6 separate regions of the Homo sapiens genome follow, and regions 1, 2, 4, 5 and 6 are each linked to region 3. The links are contacts of gene promoters, found by promoter capture Hi-C in blood cells and fetal thymus (Javierre and others, 2016). All regions are on one chromosome and are shown on one strand. The core of a region is centred on a gene start or on the middle of the fragment in contact, and the rest is flanking DNA. Distances in the headings are between cores, read along the strand shown.

What was found. The method cuts DNA at HindIII sites, captures the fragments that hold promoters and counts their contacts. A CHiCAGO score of 5 or more calls a contact.
Region 1: a fragment that was not itself captured here is called in contact with the fragment with the promoter of MITF in region 3 in 3 of 17 cell types (M2 macrophages, M1 macrophages and M0 macrophages); the score reaches 7.0 in M2 macrophages.
Region 2: a fragment that was not itself captured here is called in contact with the fragment with the promoter of MITF in region 3 in 2 of 17 cell types (M0 macrophages and M2 macrophages); the score reaches 5.1 in M0 macrophages.
Region 4: a fragment that was not itself captured here is called in contact with the fragment with the promoter of MITF in region 3 in 1 of 17 cell types (M0 macrophages); the score reaches 5.5 in M0 macrophages.
Region 5: a contact is called between a fragment that was not itself captured here and the fragment with the promoter of MITF in region 3, in 1 of 17 cell types (M2 macrophages). The highest score is 5.5, in M2 macrophages.
Region 6: a fragment that was not itself captured here is called in contact with the fragment with the promoter of MITF in region 3 in 2 of 17 cell types (M2 macrophages and M1 macrophages); the score reaches 5.8 in M2 macrophages.

The regions. Positions count from the first base shown.
Region 1 is chr3:69,950,250-69,952,949 of GRCh38, forward strand. It overlaps MITF (melanocyte inducing transcription factor), which reads left to right. Exons shown (of 10, transcript NM_001354604.2): 7 at 1,563-1,637. Among named protein-coding and RNA genes, the nearest start is that of SAMMSON, 48 kb to the right of the region's middle. The HindIII fragment of the contact is 223 bases long and covers 1,183-1,405 here.
Region 2 is chr3:69,881,085-69,883,784 of GRCh38, forward strand. The region is part of intron 2 of MITF (melanocyte inducing transcription factor); the gene reads left to right. Among named protein-coding and RNA genes, the nearest start is that of SAMMSON, 120 kb to the right of the region's middle. The HindIII fragment of the contact is 758 bases long and covers 1,067-1,824 here.
Region 3 is chr3:69,738,105-69,740,804 of GRCh38, forward strand. It overlaps MITF (melanocyte inducing transcription factor), which reads left to right and starts at 1,360. Exons shown (of 10, transcript NM_001354604.2): 1 at 1,360-1,597. The coding sequence starts at 1,494. RefSeq lists a promoter at 1-1,496 and a silencer at 1,296-1,595. The HindIII fragment of the contact is 10,451 bases long and covers 1-2,700 here.
Region 4 is chr3:69,544,751-69,547,450 of GRCh38, forward strand. No RefSeq gene overlaps it. Among named protein-coding and RNA genes, the nearest start is that of FRMD4B, 160 kb to the left of the region's middle. The HindIII fragment of the contact is 1,975 bases long and covers 451-2,425 here.
Region 5 is chr3:69,921,260-69,923,959 of GRCh38, forward strand. All of the region lies in intron 2 of MITF (melanocyte inducing transcription factor), which reads left to right. Among named protein-coding and RNA genes, the nearest start is that of SAMMSON, 77 kb to the right of the region's middle. RefSeq lists enhancers at 776-2,181, 1,231-1,527. The HindIII fragment of the contact is 2,746 bases long and covers 1-2,700 here.
Region 6 is chr3:69,966,882-69,969,581 of GRCh38, forward strand. It overlaps MITF (melanocyte inducing transcription factor), which reads left to right. Exons shown (of 10, transcript NM_001354604.2): 10 at 1-1,451. Among named protein-coding and RNA genes, the nearest start is that of SAMMSON, 32 kb to the right of the region's middle. The HindIII fragment of the contact is 1,202 bases long and covers 669-1,870 here.

The sequences.
Region 1 (2,700 bases), core at 44-2,543, 210 kb after region 3:
ACACCACTGCACTCCAGCCTGGGCAAGAGGAATGAGTCCTGTCTCAAAACAAAGCAAAACAAAACAAAACAACAACAACAACAACAACTTAAGAATCATTGAAGTGGAGGGTATGTAAGTCATGCTTCTGTGTGAGGAAAAAAAAACTAGAAAATGATTTGAACTGACCATCACAACTGAAAGAATTCAACTTCTGAGTTATATATATATATATATATATATATATATGCACACACATACACACACACACATAGATATGCATATATATGCATATATACATGGATGTATGCATATAGATATGCATATATACATGGATGTATGCATATAGATATGCATATATACATATATAACACCCATATAATAAATATATATGGTGTGTATATATATATATATATATATGCTTCAGTGGCTATAAGTTATGCTAAAAAGATTTCTATTTTGAGATAAAATTCTAAATTATGGTAGTGTAATGCTTCAGCTATCACTTCTGAAAAGGAAATAACAGAGCTTTCTGGATCCCCAGATTGGTCAAGTAACATGTTTTGTTTTGTTTTTAATTCTGTTTTGTTTTGTTTTGTTCTCTGTAAGGCAAAAAGTAATCTCTTATCCCAGAGATGTCACAAGAGTTGCTATGCAAATAGAGCTTTCCAATTGCAGTTGCCACCAAATGCCTCTATTCCTATTTTGTTTTTATAGACTCAAGCTAGTAAATAGTGGTTCCTAAGTTATTAGATGATTTCATTACAGCAGGTTTTAACAGAATCTGGCACCAACTTCTGAAAAAATGAGTTCATTCTATGAAGTAGTGAACTAGTTAGAAGAGACAGAGATCCAATTTGGCAGCTTTTTTTTTTTTTTTTTTTTTTGAGACAGGGTCTCTCTGTGTCTCCTGAGCTGGTGTGCAGTGGTGTGATCACGGCTCACTACAACCTCGACCTCCTGGGCTCAAGTGATCCTCCCACCTCAGCCTCCCGTAGCTGGGACTGCAAGCATGCACCACCATGCTGGACTTATTTTTTTTTATTTTTTGTAAAGACCAAGGCTGATCTTGAACTCCTGGGCTCAAGTGATCTTTCCACTTCCACTTCCCAAAGTGCTGGAATTACAGGTGCAAGCAACCATGCTGGGCCACTACTCAGTTTTTATATCAGCACGTTACACAGGCATCAAAAAAGGATTGAAAGCTTCTATGGCCTGAAAAGAAAATATATCAGACCCCTGATAATAGAGTATCAACAGCAAATTGACATAGTTTTCTAATTATCGATTTCTTTCTTGCTAGTATCTGTATATGTTTACAGTGTGCTATATATAATTTTTACCAGGGTTTTTTTTTACCATTTTGTGGAAGCCCAGTTTTTACATATTGTATATATGATATATATATTGCTTTTGAAAACATGCAAGCTTTTTAAAAAGATATCATTTTTAAAAAAACGTATTTTTACTTAGAGTCAAGTCAAATAAGCTTCTGTATGTTTGGGAAATGAGATATTTTGTAGTTTACATTTTGTGCAACTTCAAACAGTTCCAACTTCTAATGACTTCATTCACGTGCACAGCGTGTATTTTTCCCACAGAGTCTGAAGCAAGAGCACTGGCCAAAGAGAGGCAGAAAAAGGACAATCACAACCTGAGTAAGTTGGTTTTATTTATGTTCATGACATTTGATATTAATGTTCCCCATATATCAAAAATGTTTCCAGAAATTCTGTAGAGGAGAGTTGATTCCTACAGCTGTTAAAATTCTCTCTTATGGAAGAAAATTGTATTTGACAGAAACCAAGGTATATATTTTCCCCATATTTTATCTCAGATCAAATTGAATTTTGTATATATACTTATTTTCAGTTTCTGAAGAGTTTTTATTTTTCTTGTTTCTAGTAGTGGTTTTCTCTCTCTCTCTCTCTCTTTTTGGTAAGAGGGAGAATTGATCCCCAACTACCCAATTATAAGTGTTGCTCACACTGGAACTTATTAACAAAAGGGGATTAGGGAAGCACCTTCTCCAATGAGATTTGAAAGAAAAAGAAAGAAAGAAACAGATCTGAAGGGGAGTAAATGGATGAGGCAGCCTCCTAAATTTCTGACATGATTCGTGACTTAAAAAAAATAGCCCTAAAGCATTTAAAATATTTTTTACGTGTTTAATTTACTCTTGATCAAATCTTCAAGTTGTCTCCTACGAATACTTTAATTTTGGTTTAATATAAACATGTAAGACAAGTTGCACAGATTTTTTTAAAAAGGGATTGGGCTTGGAGGTAGGAAATTGTGTGTGAATTTCTCATCTCATGGCCTCATGTCCTCTGTTTCTTAAATTGATTTTTAAGAATGTGAGTCATATATAAACACTTTCTCCTTATAAAAATGATAGAATAAGGCCAGAGTTCCCCTTTAGTCCCCAGGAATATGCGTGTTGGTTTCAATTTGGCATTGCTCTTCCTGACCTTTTTCTGTGTATTAAGAATATAGACACATGCACACAGAAAATAAATCATATGGATTTCTATATGTTTTAACACAAACGGTATCATATTGTCCATTTTATGTTGATTTTTTTCTACTAAGCAGCATGTTTTGAAGACCTTTTGCTGTTAGAAATCTAGATCTATCTACTTTTTGAAAACAAATTGCATAGTATTTTATAGTGTGACTGTATGATATTTAGTAACTTCCCAACTGCTGTGTGTTTATGTT
Region 2 (2,700 bases), core at 196-2,695, 140 kb after region 3:
TTAAAGTTAAAATCTACATTAAGTTGTTTGAATAACATACCAATATTTTTATATGTTGCTGTGTCCTGGTGACACTGGATTGAGCTACAACCCCTAACTTATGTATGCCAGAAAAATGTCCAAAGTTAAAGCACAAATAAATTGTTACAGCTGGACGACATACTCTAACTAAAAATAAGTATTAGGTAAATTTCTCTTTCACTCTGAATATAGTTCCTGTCTATTTAACTTCTGCTTTTTTATATTTCAGTTATATAAACTAGTAAACTATGTCATATAAATAAAAATAAGGAATTATTGCCATAGCTATATGGTTAGGTTTGATAGCTATTTAGACAAATTTTGGTATTCTTAAATGAAGAAACAAATAAGAATACACGATTTTATTAAGACAATATTTTAAGAAAATCAGATAACATTTTTAAAGAGAATATCATATAAGTGATTGCTTCAGATACTTAAAGACTTAGGACTTCATAAATATAGTTGGCTTATTTTCAAAATTTTGTGTATAAAAGTATTATGAAACATTATAGAAAGATAAGTGAGAGAAAGGTGGTTTTTTTTTTCTTTTTTATAGTTTTTAAATCATAAGCATAATTTTGTGAAGTAAGTGGTTAATAGCAAAACAGTTAATATGCTTAATCTTGGACCATTTATTTCTCCATGAATATATATTTTCAAAGAATGGTAATACCAAGTATACTAATTGAGTGCATTATGATACAGATTATATTGAATAAATATTTTCTCATAGTATGGCCTGAGTAAATTCGCTTAATTTTTAAAGGTTTAACTTGCTAAAACAGAACATGCCTGCTTCTCAGTGGAGGTAGATGTATACAATTAGTCACACTTGCATGCACTAGAGAATCTGGTTAAATCTCTCCGTCTCCCAAGTTGTTTGTAAGAACCAGAGGGAAGAAAGGTCATAGTTTAGTTTTCATACACACACAAAGTTAAGTTACCAACATTCTGCTATCTGGATGAATGACTGATTTCAAAAAGCTAAAGCAGTGTTTTCAGGTTAATCCCTTTTTTTGGCAGAGTAAAATTTAAAATATGAAGCTTTATAAAGCATGTTTAAAAGTTATTGACATCTGGTAAACTTAGGACTAGTCAGATTTTGGGTTAGAGATCGAAAATCTGCACCACTCATTCCTCAACGTATAGTCATTGTGCCGTGAGTAAGTTCATGAATCTTTGTAAGATTAGCCTCTGGTTTCTATATTGATTTAATAATATATGAATTTTCCTTCATATTGATTTTCATTTTTGGGGACATGGAATCATGAGTCTTATTGCTATATATTTACATAGTAAAGATATTCTCCAAGTTTTTTAAGAACAACCTTACCCAATTGGGTATTGTAATTTAAGGATGCTCTTTTACCATAAATTAACCAACACCTGGAGTGCATAATGCATTTTTTTGTAATGGTGAACACACCCTGTATTTTGAGTTGTGAATTAACAACAACAAAAAAAAAGTCATCAAGAACCATTAATGGAATCAGTTTCTTCCACAAGTGGGTTTTGCTGACATGCAAGTCATGCAAACCTGAAGTTTGAAATTTGATGTAGCTTTTTTCAAACAAAAACAGAGTAACGGGACAGAACTGTAGGTGAGTTCAGCCTTATAGCTAAAGCATCACGGTACAAACCACCAAGTTAATCATTTATGTAGTCACCAAGCATCTGTTTTCATAGTTTTGTCTCTCTGACTTTGATGAATTATAAAAGCACTGGTCGCTCTCATCCTGGACTAAGTTCATCAGGATTTCTTCCCCTACTACCTTCCCAAGATGGGCTTTGACGGTTGAAAGCTTGAAAACATTAGTTTACAGTTTGAAAATGTTTCTCTGTTCAGAAATCTGAAGGGAGTTGCCAAGGATTCCCCACTACCTCTGTCTCTCCCTCCCTTCCTTTCACCTTGAAATTTAAAATTTTAAAGGCAAAGTCGAAGTGTCTTCTCTGGAACGGATTGTCCCTTGAATTTTTCTGTTCTGCTTAAGGGAAAGGTTGCATGAATTTTAAAAGGAAAAGATTTTTTTTATTACTTTGGGGCATTTCTTAACTACTTTGAAGGAATTTATTTTTAAATTTTCCCTTTTCTCCAAATCATCTCAAGAGTTGCGCAAATTGCTCTGTAATTAGTGATGATGCTTGCTGTTTGTCAAATACAGAAGCACTTTTTCTGGGACCTTCTACATTGTAAACTAAATTTACGTGGGCATTTATTTGGTGGTTATCTCGTCAAAGTTGCCTCTCATTTGTATTGAGATTCTAGCGAGGTGGGCTGGAAGCCCTGCTCCTTGTTACCCTCTTTCAAAAACTGACATTCCATATTTCACTAGTGAGGGGAAGGGTTAATGGCTGAACTACTGGTCTTTCTCTGTAAATTATGAAATCTGCATGGAGTAGAATTTTCAAGGTGTGATTTATTTTTTAGGTATAACACAGAACATGAAAATGTGTGTGGAGTTACAGGTGGATTGGTGGGCTACAGATTGGCAAAAGGGACTTCTCCCACAACCTACCCTTAGATTTTGTTTCTGGTTTATTTAGCCAGGAATACAGACCCTAAATAGCATCATGGTGGCTGCAAGAAGCCAGAACAGATGTAGTGTGTCTCAGATCAGCTTGCCTTTGTCCCCTCAGTTAGGGGATCTGTTGCTAGAGGTGTCACTCTCATAAGGT
Region 3 (2,700 bases), core at 110-2,609:
GGGAGGCAAGATATGCAAAGGGGTAACTCCTGGGAGGTGCCCAGTTGTCACTGTAGCCTCTTTAGAATTTTCTCCTAGGACAGTCATTTAGTTTATTAATTCTGAAAGGCCAAACACCAAAATGAGATGTTAATCTGAAAGGAATAACTTCAAGACCTAATAAAGAATGACCACTGAGCAGAGTTTTTATAGATTGCAAATCACTTTCTCTTACATTTGACCTTGCAACATCTTCTAAAACTGGTTTGCCAATCTCTTCTTTTATGGATGAAGAAATGGAGGCTTCTAGGAACCAAGTGACATGCTCAGGATTGCACAGCTCTTCTTAGAAGGACTGGGGATTTCAACTCTGAGTCTTATACCTTTAAATGCCACTGTAACTCTATACTGCCTCCCTGATGCCTCAAAACACTTTTGAAAAGAAGGAACACGTCCTACTGGAGCTAATCAGAGGGAAGAACTAGAAGTACAAATGAGCCACAACGGAGAGTTTTAAAATTCTCTTCCCTAAGTGAGTTCCGGGAAGCTCGGGAAGGGGTGGACACTTGTACAGTTCACTTGTACATCTTCACTCCTGAAATGCTAGGACAAATCTCATTTGAACTCCCAGTCAACTGAGAAATTAAAAGCAGAGAGCAACGACGCTATTTTGTAACTTTGTGCCTTTTAAAATTAACCGAATCTTTCAATTGCTGCTGTAGATTAGAAGTGGCTACTTGGATAAAGGGGAAAGAGCCATTCAACTGATGAATACTATTGTAAAAGTCCAGACTTAGTTCTAGAAAAGGAACGCACAAGAACAATTTCTCCAATAACGTTTTCATTACAGAGCGAAGGAAAGTTCTTCCTCGTTGTTCCAATCCGAGGACAAGCTGATATGTCGCAGCAGCCCAGGGAAGCATGCGAGCTGATAGGAAGTCCTTTTATTTTAAGACAGGCTCGAATGCTAAAACTTTCTTGTGCCAAAACCCTTGACTATTTTATTTTTAAAATAAGCACTTGGCGTGCCCTCGCAGATGTCTGAGCTGAGAGGTCGGGGCGATGGTAGAAGAGCAGTCAGTGTCCATTCTTATTCATATTAAGTAGCCAAGTCTGTACCCTTGAAGCAAGTGGGGAGAGAGGAGGGAGAGGAGCTGCTGACATTGACAATGAATCCAAACAGGAGTTGCACTAGCGGTGTCCACCACGTTGCCTCTCCCCCGCCTGGCCTTCTGGGAGCTGTAGTTTTCGTGGGAGCGGCTCCCCAGGCGAGCTGGGAATGCCCCGCCCGGGCCGAACTACAGATCCCAGGCGGCGCTCGGCCGCCAGCCCCTCCCGCCCGGGTGCGAGTGTAAACTCCCCGCGCTGGGGCGGGCGGCCGCGAGCCGGCGAGCGGGCAGAGCTCGGCACTGCGCCGGGGCGCACGGCTCGGGGGACCCAGGCCCAGCTACCTTCCCTCCGCCCCCGGGCTCTGTTCTCACTTTCCAGCAGTGGAAGGACGGGAAGCGGGAGCCATGCAGTCCGAATCGGGGATCGTGCCGGATTTCGAAGTCGGGGAGGAGTTTCATGAAGAGCCCAAAACCTATTACGAACTCAAAAGTCAACCGCTGAAGAGCAGGTGAGTGGTGACAGCTGGGCAGAGGCGCACCGGGCGGCTGGGGGGCACTGCGTCTGCCACTCTGGGGCGAGGAGAGCGGGTCGCGGGAGCTCTGGGACAAGGACCCAGTGCCCTTGCCCCGGAGCAGAGGGCGAACTGCCCCTCGCAGTTGGGGGCCGCGCCTGCCCGGCCCAAGTGCGCCTTTAGGAAGCTCGGATGGAGCGCACTTCGCGGGGGCGCGGCGGGTCGCCGGGGACGAAGCGTCCAGGCGCGGGGACCCTCGGCCGAGGATGCCAGCTGCTGAGACTGATTGGGGGCTGGGGAGCGACCTGGCGCGATGTGGGGGAGGAGGAGCGCCGGGCCGGGACGCTGTCCCGGTGGGATGGGGGAGAAAGAGTTCTAGTGAACCCCCTTTCTGAAGATCCCAGCGGGTTGAGGGCTCGGAGAGGGAGAGCTTTGGGTGGACTGAGATGCGACATTGGAGGGAAGCAATTAGTTCGCTTGGAGTCACCTCTTGGGAGTCCGGTCTCTGTGGGGAAACTAGCCTCTGGGCTCCTGCAGGTGAGGTTTCTCTGGGCTCCGCCTCTCACCTCCAGACCGCTGCTAGCGGGCGCGGGAGGGGCCAGGGCAGCGGTGGGCGTGTCCCCTTGTTCAAGTTAAACTCTCTGGAAATAGAGTCCCATTCAAATCCAGGCCTTACCTGCAGAGGGGAAATGAGCCTTGGTCTTGGGGGTTACTGGGAGTGTACCCCGCTTGGCAGAGACACGTGTTTAATTCGCTGGGGACTTCAGAAACTTTTTAGACGAGGAGTGAAGACATCCACTGCTCTGATGCCCCATCCCCTCTAGTGCCCACTTCCCTTGAGCCACCCTTTTTGCTGCCTCCATTCCCACTTGTCTGTCGAAATGGATTGGGTGTCTTCCGTTCTCTCTGTCCGGCAGCCACTCTGGACGCCTCGTACTTCTCGTTTACAATGTTTCCTAAAAGGGACATGGTCAATGGAGGCTGGAATAGCTGAGAAGGGTTTATTTCCACCCCTCTAAGCTGTGAGCTAGGATAAGGCTATCATTGGAAGCATCCAGCAGGGCTTCTGCACTCGGCTGTAACTTCCTGCCTTGCCCTTC
Region 4 (2,700 bases), core at 188-2,687, 190 kb before region 3:
CTGTTAAACAGGGTTAATAATAATGCATTACTTACAGGGGTATTGTAAGGATTAAATTAGTTAATATGTGGAAAGCATTTGGAATAGTGCCTCATGCATGATAAATGCTTAATAAATACTAGCTATTATTATTAAAGGACAGAGGCTGATTTCTTTCCAAATTCCATCTTCTGAAAAATAAATATTTATAGAATAAATATTTATAGAATAAATATTTATAGAATAAATATTTATGGAATATTTATGGAAAACAGCAAAATTAAAACCACAACACAATTGAACCTGCAAAAACTTTTTTTCCTTTATTTTATCCTAATATAGAATTATCAACCTGGCTGCATATTAGAGTTCTGGGGATGTTTTTTCTTTATTTGTTTGTTTGTTTTCAATACTGGAAACAATTATATTAGAATCTCTGGGGGTGGAGTTTGGGCATCAGGATTTTCTTAAAGCTTTGTAGGTGAAATCATTATACAGTAGGGATTGGAATCACCGAAATGTCCATAGGATGTCCGTAGGAACTACCTGAAACCTACTCATGGACTACGTATTTGGATTCTGTATTATAGACTTGGCTGCAGGAACCACATCCAGAGGGAAAACAACACATCCTTTACTTTTTGTGTGACTAGTAAATACCTAACTCTAGGATAGGTACTATGCCAAAACAAACAAACAAACACACAAAAAACTGCAACAAACAAGATAAAGGAAATGAGGTTTGTCATTCAGAAGCTCATAATTTAGTTGTTGTGATGAGACAAATATACATGGACAAAGTGACAGCAAGGAGGATGAAGAGGAAACAATTCTGTCTTGAAATATATAATTTCCAGGTGAAAAATCAGGGCCCACACACTGCTGTATATATAATAAAATAGTTTTGATGCAAGAGGGTGTTAGAAATTCCCCAGACCCCCATTTCAAGCCCTCAGTCTTATACAGTATGAAGGAGTGTGACATGAGATTCAGCTATTGAATTAATAAGAACATGTATCATAAATATTTTATTTTCTAAATTTAAAGTTATTTTTATATTTATTTATTTATATATCTGTACTAAGTATAGATATATGCTTATTGGAGAAGTTGTTTTTTTTTTTTTGTTTTTTAAGATGGGGTCTCACTCTGTCACCCAGGCTGGAGTGCAGTGGCGCCATCTCAGCTCACTGCAGCCTCTACCTTCCAGGTTCAAGCAATTCTCTCACCTCAGCCTCCCCAGCAGCTGGGATTACAGGGGTGTGCCACCTTGCCCAGCTAATTTTTGCATTTTTAGTACAGACAGGGTTTCACCATGTTGGCCAGACTGGTCTCGAACTCCTGATCTCAGGTGATCCTCCCACCTTGTCCTCCTAAAGTGCTGGGATTACAGGCATGAGCCACTGCACCCAGCCGAGAAGTTTTTGACAATATAAGAAATACATAAAGTAGAAATGAAAAATTATTTGCAAGTTCACTACTCTGAATAAGCATCTTTGACATACATAGTCCAGACTTTTAAAAATGTACATGCAAACACAAAACATACAAGTCATCTATTATATTGATATGCCATAATTTATTCACCCAAGCCAATTAGTTATCTTTGATTTTTATTTTTCTTTTATGTACAATTTTAAAACCAAGGTTAAAAGGAGGTCATATCATTCCTACAGCACTATCATTTTCTTCAGAGTGTTTCTGCCTTTCAAAGATTTCCTGCTGGTTATTCAAATATGGGATAAGAGCATATATACCGCTTGCATATTTTATAGCTAAAGGCTTGTGAGTGGGCAGACGTTCATTAATTTGTAACAAGAACCCGTGCTCATGTTCATTAAGTGTTTTGCACATGTGGTCTCATTTTATTAGTGACCCTGTGAAGTAATCACCCTTTTTCACTCCATTCTACACATGAGAAAATTAACCCAGACAGGTGAAATGACTTGCTCATGGTCCTATAACTAGCAAGTCAGTAGCTACAATTTGATCCCAGGTCTCTTTGACCCAGCGGGAATGAAGGTCTAGCCCGCCATGCCAGGAGACACATGGTACTTTTGTTGTGAATATAATGACTTGGGTAGATCTCAGTGATTTCTGGATTTTCAACAGACTAAAAAAAATTGAATCACAATAATATTGAACATGTAAAAAAAACCATACTTGTTGCTACTCAGGGTCAATTGTTGTGTTTTCTTTCTAAAGCACTCTTTAGATAACTAAGAACAGCCATCCATTGATATACTTCAAGATATTTTGCTACTTCTTAAAGCGTACCATTGCAGCATATATTTCTGTGTGAGCCCTAGATATACTCTGCACCTTGACGACACAACACACTGTAATCAACAAAAAGGAGGCCCATTATTTCATACCTCCATGGGATGTTCATCATCACTGATGCCTCATCTTTCTATTTAAGCCCAGGGCCTTGAGATGAAATTAAAGCTTTTTTTTCACTAACCTAACCAAGGCTGATGTGTTTTATGCTCAAATGTAGCACAAAATTATTAGGTCATTATCTCCAATCTTTGAATATGTAAATAAACATAAAATAAGGCTTTTTCAAAGTGTACTAATTATGATACCCTGAAATTAAAACAAAATAAGAAAACTTGAATAATTATGTTTAAACATAGACAGAAAGATCATTGGTTAAATCACAGGAAATTGTGTTTCTGTGGATTAAAGGTCAAATATTGGCAACTTCATGGGGTTCAA
Region 5 (2,700 bases), core at 97-2,596, 180 kb after region 3:
ACTTCTGGTTTTGTTTGCAAGTATAGTAACGTTCCTTTATTTACTATTTTATCAGACATAAGAGACTTTTAAGTGACACTCTCAGATATCAATAATGCACTCATAGTTGATGTTCGGAATGACTCAGAAACACCAAAAGCAGATTCCTAGTGTGCTTTTTGAAACATTAGAATTGTTCAGCTTCATTCTATATAGTTTTAGGGCATAGTTTATCATTATTGTGTTGAATTGATCGTTCTTGATTTATAGCATAGCTTTTCCTGTCCATCTGACTGTCCAGAACTCAAATCAGTATGAATTCTTGAGTATTGAATTAGGCTATTTACAGTGAAGATGACGTTTCCTGCACCCTCCAATTAGCTAGAAACATCTCCTTTGCATGTCAAGACAAGATGTGAAATAACTCTTGATAACTGTGAATATCAGATATAAGAAGGAAGCATGTCAATAGTTCATGAGATACCTGTGCCATTCCTGGGGCTTGACTAGTTTCTGTGCCTTTTCTGAAATCTGCCACTGAAAGGAGTCGGGAAGGAAATTGGCACAGCCTCTTCTAGGATAGGATTTCTACACTGTGGCATTATTAACACTGGGACGAAAGAGTCTTTGTTTTGAAAGGCTGTCTTGTGCATCGTAGGATGTTTAGCATCACCGCTGGACTCTCGCATACTGGATGCCGGTAGTAGCACCCCCTCCTCACATAGTTATGACAACCAAAAGTATCTCCAGACATTGCCTAAAATTCCTTGAAGGGCAAAACTGCCTGTACAGTTGAGAGCTCCCATCTTAATAGGCAGGAGCACCTTACTGTAAATTTCTGTGTGGGTTACTCTCCCTGTTTCCCCCACCTAACCCTTGGGTTGTAAGCCCCTTGATGATAGAAATGAAGTATTTTCTTTCATGTTGAGGTCTCGCTTTCTTTTCTGTCTACCACACAATATATAGAGATTTGAGGATTGACTATGCCATTGCTTTTTTTTTCAGACGGAGTCTCACTCTGTCGCCAGGCTGGAGTGCGGTGGCACAATCTCAGCTCACTGCAGCCTCTGCCTCCTGGGTTCAGGTGATTCTCCTGCCTCAGCCTCCCAAGTAGCTGGGACTACAGGCATATGCCACCACACCCAGCTAATTTTTATATTTTTAGTAAAGTTAGGGTTTCACCATGTTGGCCAGGATGGTCTCGATCTCTTGACGTTGTGATCCACCTGCCTTGGCCTCCCAAAGTGCTGGGATTACAGGAGTGAGCCACCACACCCGGCCGCCATTGCTTTTTAGTTTTTGTTTTTATCCAAGCCACATAATATAGTGGGTTTTTAACAAAAGGGCAGTCTTGACATTTCTCTTCTTCCCGTTTTTGTTACTGCTTCACAACTGAGTACGTAACAACTGGTACTTCAGTGATACAGTGGCCTATTTTCTTTCTTATAAAAGACATTACTATATCATACAGTATTTTAACCTTTCCTTTACAAATCTCATGATACTGAGATGCCTTTGGTTAACAAAAATTGCCATTGAGTCTGGAAGATTGTTTGTTTGCTGACTGACCAGCCCCCTCATCTCATCCTTCTCACAAAGAAAGAAAGAAAGAAACAAACCCTCAACCCTTAAATTAGTCAAAGTCCTAAGGCAGTTTTCCCAGAACAAATGTCCATATTGACTTTCTCCGTTGTTAGGTCCTGTCCTTGTTGACCCGTTGCTGGCTTGAGGGGCTGATTCTGTTCACTTTGGAATTGGGTAGCGTTTTGGTTTAACAACAGTGTCCACCCAGCGGGGGACCAAATTCTCAGGAGAAGCCTTATTTATAATAAAGCACAAAAACAAATACTCAGAAGAAATAGTGATTACATAGGCCCTCTGAACAGTTTCAAAAGCAGAAATAATTCCGTTGAAAATATGAATCCTGTAAATAACTCATAGTTTGGTAGTGTTTCATAAAGTGATTAGGAGTAAGCCTCAATTTCCTCATGCTGAAAATGGGGATAATAACATCTGCTACTTCGTAGGATTGTAATGAGGATTAAATAAGTGAATCCATTGAAAACTTTCAGAAAAACTACCTGTAACATAGCACTCAGTAATTGCTTTATTTTCTTTCTTTTGGAGATGGAGTCTTGCTCTGTCACCTAGGCTGGAATGCATTGATGCGATCTTGGCTCATTGCAACCTCTGCCTCCCGGGTTCAATCAATTCTCCTGCCTCAGCCTCCTGAGTAGCTGGGACTGCAGGCACACACCACCACACCAGGCTAATTTTTGTATTTTTAGTAGAGATGGGGTTTCACCATGTTGGCCTGAAGTGATCGGCCTGCCTTGGCCTCCCAGAGTGCTGGGATTACAGGCATGAGTCACCACACCTAGCCTATTTTCACTTTTTAATTCTTCTCCTAATTATGAGGAGTCTCTATATCTTCCCATTTTCCTACCTCCTTTAAAATTCCTACCTATATTCTCCAAAGAAGTAGTCTATCCTCTTCCTCTTTATATGCATTATCCATTATTTTTATCACACAAATCCAAATGGGACTATCCAAACCACATATATTGGCCTGGTATAGGTGTGTCCTCCCTTTACAGATTTTTATAGATTTTCAAAAAATTTTAAATCTCTGAGAATTTGCTTTGTAGAGTATGATAAGTCATAGGTTTTTGTTTGTTTTTTTTTGGCAAAGTACTTTTTATAGTGAGGAAAAATAAAGCT
Region 6 (2,700 bases), core at 20-2,519, 230 kb after region 3:
TAATGTAGGGGAAAGTTTCATGATGGTATCTATAGTCAAGACGAACATGTAGCATGGTGCCTATGTAGACAATATAAGAGCTTCCAATTTTCCTTCAGATATTTTTAATATTAAATATATTTTAGTGACAGAGTGCCAACTTCTTTCATCAGGAAACCTTATTCAGGAGGGTTTTTAAAAAGTGTTTAAATGTCAAATGTGAATTGGTGATGGGTGATGGAGGGTTCAGAGAGGAGTGATCGTCAGATGTGTGAATGGACGGTTTAGGTGAAAATAATCAACTGCATAGTTCCCATGCACGCTGGGCAATGAGAATCCTTGGAAACATTGGTGATGCTATCAGTTTTATAGCTTTATTTCTTAAGGGGGTAGGGAAAATTAGTTCCCATTCTTTCAACCCCCTTAACTGTATAGCTCTTTTCCTAGAATAGTGACGCAAATCTGCATGAACAGCTAATTGTACCATAGTGTTCATTGATACAATCATAGCATTGTCTATTTTTCTCTTCATATTTATATGGGGGGGAGGGCGCTGGATGCAAAAGTTGAAGATCGTGATGCTATGATGTTAGTTTTCCTTAGCTGATTTTGAGGGTTTTTAAAAATAAAGCAAGGTTGACTAACCTACGGCCACGGGAACAGGACCATGGTTAAGCAACCATATAGAAAGCTTTGTTGAAAGAAAGTATGGCATCTTGTACCACTGCCCTGACTGTCACAACTCCTAACCTTGCCATTGCCTGCCTCCCCCTCCCCTTCTCCTTAAGAGACAATTTCTGCAGGTGGCAGGTGAGCAAGCCCAGGAGAATGCTGCAATCTTGGGGGTGGTTTTATTTATTTCTTTTTTGCCAAATAGAGTGTGGATTCATTTCAGGGGCTAGCTAAGCCAAGAGGCAGTGGTTTGGGCTTGTTGTTTGTAACAAGAAAATGATCCACACCACTCCCCCGATTCCCGGGTGCAGAATTGTAACTCGGGGTTGGGCCTCTATATGGAGTGACCAAAATGCCAAAATTGTCCATCTGCCTCTGAGTAGGGCAATGGAAATACCAAACCTTCTGACTTTGCCAAAAAGCATACAAGCAACCTGGTCATACATAGGATGACAAAATTCTTTCTGGTTGTTTTTAAACAATAAAGCAATAAGAACAAATACAATACATAGGAAGTTAAAAGCACAAAGGAATGAACTTATTAATATTTTTGAAAAATGCACTGGGAAAAAGTTGATGTCAATAACAGTATAAAACAGCCCTATTTCTTGATAAAAAATGACAAATGACTGTCTCTTGCGGATGCTTGGTACTGTAATGTTAATAATAGTCACCTGCTGTTGGATGCAGCAATAATTTCTGTATGGTCCATAGCACTGTATATTATGGATCGATATTAATGTATCCAATGAAATAATCGACTTGTTCTTGATAGCCTCATTAAAGCATTTGGTTTTTCACATAGTGGTGGCCTATTGTGTTAATGCCAATTTTGAATGCTATCTGCCATATCAAAAAATGGTAGTGCACATTTTCTTCTGATTTAATGAATAACAAATTGCATGAAAATTTAGAAAATGCCAGTAAGTACTTTTTTTGTTTAAAATGCCACTCTAAGATGTTACTTTTTGGTTTTAAACATTTTTGATTACTTTTTGACTTACACTCAGATGAGGTGTAATTATGCACCTTTTTTATCCCCCTCTGAATTTGGGGAGATTTTAAACTCCCAAATGCCAAGACTTCATTTTAGATATAGGAGTTTTATTTAAAATGTTTCATTGAGAGGTGGCTTTAAAAAAGAGAAATTGTCAGAGAAACCCTTGCATATTTACAGAAAAGATATTGGGTTTTTAAAATACAAATTTACAATAATGAAAGCTTAATATACCCAGGCTGCCAGCTCCTGGTTGCCTTTTTTTTTTAATACACTACTTAAGAATCATTTGATAAATGTTGGATTTGAATTGGGAAGTGTCAGACAAAACATGTCTTTATTCCCTAGCTAGACCTTAAACTTCTGCCCTTTTAAAAAATATATTCTGGCTTAACCTCTGGAGAAAATGAGCAAGAAACTTCCTGTAATGCTTCTGATCTGACTGTCAGCTTTTTCCTACTTTTAATTTTCTTCTTAAATTGTAATATACAATAATCAAGGCCTTTCTTTTTTAGACCTATTTGAATTATTTATATTTTCCCTAGAAGTATAACTGTAGGATCCCTTAAAAACATGTAAAAGTAGAAAGATTTCCTTTTGGAACAAGAGAGAATATTCTGGGCAAAATCAAAAGCAAGTAAGTTGAAAATTGGGGCTTTTCATCTCCGGGGGATCTGCAGCAATACCTTCACCCACATTTCTGTCCTGATATTTACCAGTAAATAGTCATTTCACAGCCCATAAGAATCCTTCATCTTTAGCTTCCCCCACTTACACACAGACACACACACACACACACACACACACACACACACAATTAACGTGTTATAGTGGTGTTACCTGAAGATTAGACATTTGCCTACAGTGTGTATGACTTCATTTGATATCCACAGAGTTACATTTCTTAAAATTTTATTAAGCCAATTCACTTTCAAATAAATTATATCCGTTCAATCACCACACATGACCTCTCAGTTAATCTTCCTGGGTTTGAATCTTATCTCTGCCCATGTCTAGCTCTATGATTTTGCGCAAGTTATTTGGCCTCCCTG